Linked DNA regions of Homo sapiens: region 2 is linked to region 1. Evidence: promoter capture Hi-C in 16 types of primary human blood cells and fetal thymus (Javierre and others, 2016). All regions are on one chromosome and are shown on one strand. The core of a region is centred on a gene start or on the middle of the fragment in contact, and the rest is flanking DNA. Distances in the headings are between cores, read along the strand shown.

Region 1 (3,429 bases), core at 255-2,754:
GAATAGCAGCACCTTGTTAAAGACAACATTTTTTAAATATACAAAGCATATTCCCAAATGTGTTGCATATCAGTGTTCTCCATATTTGAAAAAATATGAAACACCTCAATGAAAACAAATGATCTGAAACTGATTGCTAATTTGGTACAAAACAAAAACTTACAGTTACCCCATTACCATGCTTGAATAAGAAGGTTGCTCAATTTGAGACTGGACATTGTGAAGTATTTTTCTGCCTGTAGAAATAGGCTGGAATGTCAGTTGTATATCTTGCTGCCAACAAGGGAACAGAAAAGATTTCCCAAGATTCTGTCAAGCCTGGTGATCCCATTTGTCTTTGGAAATGAAAGCCTAATTAAGAGACTCCCTAGGGACAGGTCAAAGGAGTTTTTATCCCCATCGTCCTTATCTTAGTTCCTTGATGCATTAGTCCTTCCCTTTAATTTAGTCTACCCTAAAACTAAAGAATACACATTGTGCAAGTTTCCACCTTTGCTTTCTCTACTGTAAATGCATTAGACTATTAACAGAATTACGAGTTTTAAATCCCACCTTCCTTATCTCTAAGCTGATGTTGATTTCTTAAAGTGTTTTTGAATAAAGCTTAACACTAAAAATTATTGTAATACTTTAATTGGATAACACTTTTTAAAAATATCGGAGTCTGACTAAAAGATTACAAAACCCCACAAACATCGTTATAATAAAGCTATTATGATAAATAATACTTTGTAAAATTTGAATTCGGTTTTATGTCCTAATTTCAAAGATTGTGGTTGCATGATATTATTTATCCAGGTTAAATTCCTGTTGGAATTATATTGACAGTGTTTCATTTCTTTGAAACAATTTTAGGGTTAAGCGTCTCTACAGTTAAAACAGAGAATATCAACTGTAGTCCCAGTTACTCAGGAGGCTGAGGCAGGAGAACCGCTTGAACCTGGGAGGCGGAGGTTGCAGTGAGCCGAGGTAGTGCCACTGCACTCCAGTCTGGGCGACAGAGTGAGACTCTGTCTCCAAAACAACAACAACAAACTTGAAGAGATGAAAATGTTCTATCCAATCATGATAATTCCGTGTGAGTTTTCCAATGTTTAGAAACACGTGTGGGCACCACTCCATCCCTGACCAGCAAGCTTCCTCCAGACCCACTCCACACCGCCATGTTAAAATGTCAACTTTTACTTTTTGGACTCAAACTACAAAATTTAACTATGTCTCCTCTTACCAAGATTCACAATGAACACCTAGGAGTCAAGGTAGGCTTCATAACGCTAAAGAGACCACGACTCTAATGACCACCCCAAACACAGCATTCCAGCCTAGCTGTGGTCTGCAATTACCCACTTCAGAGCCTCGGCGCAATGTCACAGCTGCAACTGATTGGTGTAACGTGCTTGTCATTCACATAGAGAGGGTGGGGCCTCAAAGCCCGATCTAAACCAGACTCCGTGTCTTACGTCATCGCCAAGCGACTAAAGCTGGAAGGGAGGGGGCGGGGTTGTGAGCAAATCTTGGTGGTGGTGGTGGTGGGGCGGCCTGAGAAGATATCATGGCTGCTGCCACGGAGCTTAATCGCCCGAGCAGCGGTGACAGGAACCTGGAGCGAAGATGCAGACCCAACCTCTCCCGAGAGGTGCTCTACGAAATCTTTCGCTCCCTACACACCCTGGTTGGACAGGTGAGAGGTGGCCTGAGGGACTGGGAATATGGAAACCATCCGGTCCCTCCTCGCCATTCTTTTTCTCTAGCAGAGGCCGGGGGCAGCTAGGCCTGCAGAGGTGTGGGATGCGGTCCCGAAGCCGAGGTGTGGAAGGAGCCCGGGCCCAGCCTCCTCGGTCGGAGTGAGGAGGACGGCGGTACCGGTTGCAGAGTCGTTTACCTTGCAGCTGTCCTCCCCAAGAGTGGGTGAGGTTGGCCTAAGTGAAAACCCGGCTCCGAGAGAGGCAGGCTTGGAGAGAATGAATGTGGAAAAGCTTCACTGCGAGTTTAGGAGGCGCTTAGCGTTCAGGGTCCTTTTTCCTCCAACTTACTCTTTATGGGAATTGGTTGGTCAGTAGGCCTGAGATTTATAGAAAAGCGCGCGCTTATTAGCTTTTTTTGGTGGGGGAGGGAGTAATTTGTTCTTATGAGTTACTTGGTTTTGTTTATTTCTTTTTTCCTTCGGGCTGTTTTGCGCATCTATAATCCTTTCAAATGGGGAGAAAAGTAAAAGGAATTCATTTAAAATACTTCTAGCGTAAAATGCTGTTGGCGTTAGAACTGTCGTTATTTAACTATTAACTAGTTTAACTGGCTGATAAATCGCTTTTGCAGAAATGTCATAGTAAAATTGGTTTTAAATTGAAATGGGCTTCTTCGATCAAGTCACTGTTTCGTTTCATGGTGTAAAATTCAAGTTTTAAATGAGAAACAATTTAAAAGTATGCTTGTTTACCTGCCTTTTAAAAGGAAATATTTTCTATCTTACATAGACCATTTTCTAGCCGTAAAAGTTTGTTTTGGGGCTGGTACTAGCGCAAGTGGACAAAGCAGGCATTTGTGTCAAAGATAATGGTAAATTCCTATGAAAATAGAACATTTGTCTGATTTGTGAAAATTATTTTTAAAGCCTTGAGTAGATGGAGAATCAGTCTTTTAAGAAGTTACTATTTTTAAAAATCGTAGTATGTTGTGTCTTACAAAGAACATTACTGTAAGTTAAACGGTTTTATGAAATGACGCAGTTATTAATGGAGTCTGCTTAAAGATATAACTTTTAAATTCAGTTGTTTGCCAAGTACTTACCAAAAACATTTTTTAAAGACTTGGGGTGTTTTGTTATTAACATTCCATTCTTAAGACCCAAGACGTTTAAATGGTTTAAAAGTTAGAGAACTTTTTATGGCGACGTTGGAACTTAAGTTTATTTATTTTATAATGTCAAGATGAAAAAAGTTTATTCTCACCTGTTAACAGAAGATGGAATATTTTTAAAAAATACTGAGCAATGATTTAAACATTTCTTTTGAAATATTTTGCATACTGAATTTTTCAAACTCATTAGAAAATTTTAAACATTCAAGTACTGTACAAGTAAAGAAGTGATTACAATTTACTTATGTCACCTGTCAAAAATGTTCACAGTAAATATTTGGTTACTTTACCATGACACAGTGAAGGGACCTCCTATACAAGTGTCAAAAATATGATTGTTTCATCAATTAAATACAAACTGTTTTCATAATACTCTATATTTTGAGAAGTGTTAAGAGTGAAAATTAGAGTTCCATACTTATAAAATTGCCCCCAGAGAAATCAGTATTTTCTTTTGCAACCACTTTAAAGGATATTTAGAATGTATGTTGTAACATGCCTAACTTCATCCTGTGTCATCCCTAAGTATCGTTGTATTATTAGATCTCCTCAGTAGGAAACATAAAACTGAAT
Region 2 (3,257 bases), core at 467-2,966, 3.1 Mb before region 1:
ATTTTCATGTCCCTCAGGAAAATAATTAAAAGTATAAACTTGAATTGTGTGAACTTTTCAAGGGTGCTGATCTTCAGAGAGGACAATTGGCATTTTGTTTTGCTTGGTTCCTGGGTTATATATATACATGTATTCTCATAGTGATTATAGTTGCCATACCTGTATCTTAGGTTTTAGGAACAACTAATAAGGATAAAGAAGGTGCATAAGTGCCTCTCTGAGGGTAACACACAGTCCTTCACGTTTCAGAAATTCCTTCTCTACAGGGCACTAGGATACCTGTCTTCTTCATTAATAGTAAGAACAGAGGGGCAGTAAGTACTCATTCAACTGTATTTTAGGTCACATAGGCTGAATTTCTCTGCAGTCGTTCTATAAGAAATTGTACCTAGAAGTGCAAACAACAAATAGATATAAATGCATTTTTAGCATTTAATCCAGTTGTCAGGTTGGGTACTGCCTATTAAAATGCTGTATTTCAGACTCCTTAGGAAAAACGAGAGCTCATGGTAAGATTTATGATAATAGGTAATAGACTCAGTCACTAAAAATACCTGAAGAGTAGCCATAGGCACATTGTCTTCATCTGGTTTATGCTTCTATGGGCTGTATAAATGTTTTACATAAGCTTTTCTTGGGTGGAATGCTGTTAGGGGCAGTACTTTTTTGTTGTTGTTGAGAATTCATATCGTTGGCCAGGGGTGGTGGCTCACACCTGTAATGACAGCACTTTCTGGGAGGCCGAGACGGGTGGATCACTTGAGGTCAGGAGTTCGAGACCAGCCTGGTCAATATGGCAAAACCCCATCTCTTTTAAAATACATAGCCGGGTGTGGCAGTGCATGCCTGTAATCCCAGCTACTCAGGAGGCTGAGGCAGTAGAATCGCTTGAAGTCAGGAGGCAGAGGTTGCAGTGAATAGAGATCGTGCTACTGCACTCCATCCTGGGTGACAGAGCCAGACTCCGTCTCAAAAAAAAATTTAAAAAAAAAGAATGCATATTGTAACAGACCAGAGAAATTTTGTACAAGATTGATTTTCTTTTTAAGATTCTGGGTACAGCTCTAACTGCTTGTATGTAGATTGACCATTTCATGACTGTGTCTGCTTATATATCCTGTAAGTTAAAAAGGATCTATTAATAATACTTAGATTTGGGTCTTGTTGATTTGGCATGCACAGTGAAGGAGAATCTTACCTTTGTATTGTTTCCTACCAAGAAACAATAATAAAGACATTTAAAAATATTTTGAGACAGAGTCTTGCTCTGTGACTCAGGATGGAGCAATCATGATCATAGCTCACTGCAGCCTCAAATTCCTGGGCTCAAATGATCCTCCCACCCCAGCCTCCCTAGTAGCTAGGACTACAGGCATGCACCACCATGCCTGGCTGATATATATATTTTTTTAATTTTGTGTAAAGACAGGATCTCACTGTGTTGCCCAGGCTGGTCTCTAATACCTGGCCTCATATGATTCTCCCATTTCTGCCTCCTAAGGTGCTGGGATTACAGGTGTGATCCCCTGCACCCTGCCTAAAAATGCATTTTAAAATGGGTTAAAAATTCCCTGGACATTTCAGATTACTACCTAAGATGGTAGAAAATGCCTTGAAGGTATTATCTCCAACAGTTTTTAGCCTTATTTTTCTTGAAATATTTCTCCTGTGGTAGTATAATAAATATGTCTAACAATGTTTCATCTCTGAGAGTTTACTTTGTTATTATTTACTTTAAAAAGCCCATTTACAGAATAAATATATTAAAATATACTGGGCCTGTGACCAATCTGCCCTGTTCAAGAATTAGTTTCCTGTGACACTGCATTCCCAGCAGGCTCCTTACCTAAAAACTGAAAAAGAGGCTCCTTAGGGATAGCCTCAAAGTTACTGAGAAGGAAAGCTAAAGAAACTAACCTCCTGGAAGGCTGTTATGAGAGGTTTTAGGACTTTTTATTCCACAGCTGTATTGGCAACTGATAGATGGAATAGGGTGTAAAACTCAAGGAAAAAAAAGTTAAAATTTTTTGACTGTGTTAAATGAGGGTGTTAAGCAGCTTTTGAGTGGAGTGATTAAATATCTCCATTTTAATTTGTTAGTTCTGAGGCAGCCTTGGGAGAGTTCACCAAACTTGACCAATTTATTTAGGAGCTAAAATGATAGTTATAGAAAATCTAGGGTTTTTTCCTCCAATTATTGAGAGCGTACTATGTGCCAGGCGGGGAAGACATGCTTCCCGTTCTCACGGAGTCATTCTAGAGGAGGAAGGAAGACAGAAACAAGTAGACAAAGGAAAGAAGGATTATTTCAGGTTGTGAAAATAAAATCTGAAAATAAAACAGAAGGATGTAATAGTCACTAGGTGGCAACATTAGGTAAAGTGTCAGGGAAACCTCTTTTGAGAAGGATATTTGAGCTGCAGCATGAATAACAAGCGTTGCCCATCTGAAGATCTGAGCAAATAGCATTCCACACACAAGAAACAGTAAGCGCTAAGGTCTTGAGCCAGACAAATTTTTGGTCTGTTCGAGCAGTGGAAAAGAAAGTGTGACAGGGCTGTGGCAAGTGAGGATGAAAATGATGCCATGATGAGTTCTGAGAAGTAGAAGAAGGAAGAATTGGGGTTAGGTAGGCTTATTTAATGAAGTTTGGAATATATTCCAAGGATAGAAGAAGTCACTGAAAAAAATTTTAAGGACAAGAATAATGTGATATCATTTGCATTTTAAGACAATCACCCTGGCCATTTTATGAGCGACTTAGGGACCAAGAGAGAAAGTAGGGGGACAAGTTGGGAAGCTTTTACTGTACTCTAAGCAAGAGATGATGGTAGCTTGAACTATGATGGAGGCAGGAGAGATGAAAAAAAGTGGATGGATTTTGGAAGTATAGCCCAGAGTACTCACCAGTTAGATGTGGGTAGTAAGACAAAAGGAAAAAACAATATTTTTTCATCATTTCTTTCTCACTCGATTTTCTTGTCCTTATTATTGTTAAAATTATCTTTTAATAGCATGTTAAAAAAATAAATATGAAAAAATAAAATAAAAAATAAATAAATAAATAATTTTTAAAAATAGCATGTTAAATAACAACCGCAAGTGTTCATTTTATTTAAATACACCTTTTGTGTGTAACCTTCGGGATTTGGGGATGGTAGTTATTCTTAGATTAGGGGATGGTAATTCTTAGATGGAATTGTAAGTTCTGGGAAATAACTTCTGGTTAATGGGTCCCAAAGCTAATACGGAGTACT

Evidence for each region. The method cuts DNA at HindIII sites, captures the fragments that hold promoters and counts their contacts. A CHiCAGO score of 5 or more calls a contact.
Region 2: a contact is called between a fragment that was not itself captured here and the fragment with the promoter of MBIP in region 1, in 1 of 17 cell types (total CD4 T cells). The highest score is 6.0, in total CD4 T cells.

Annotation. Positions count from the first base shown.
Region 1 is chr14:36,318,712-36,322,140 of GRCh38, reverse strand. It overlaps MBIP (MAP3K12 binding inhibitory protein 1), which reads left to right and starts at 1,504. Exons shown (of 9, transcript NM_016586.3): 1 at 1,504-1,681. The coding sequence starts at 1,553. RefSeq lists enhancers at 1,106-1,155, 1,556-1,815. The HindIII fragment of the contact is 840 bases long and covers 1,139-1,978 here.
Region 2 is chr14:39,425,938-39,429,194 of GRCh38, reverse strand. All of the region lies in intron 1 of FBXO33 (F-box protein 33), which reads left to right. Among named protein-coding and RNA genes, the nearest start is that of FBXO33, 4.9 kb to the left of the region's middle. The HindIII fragment of the contact is 2,172 bases long and covers 631-2,802 here.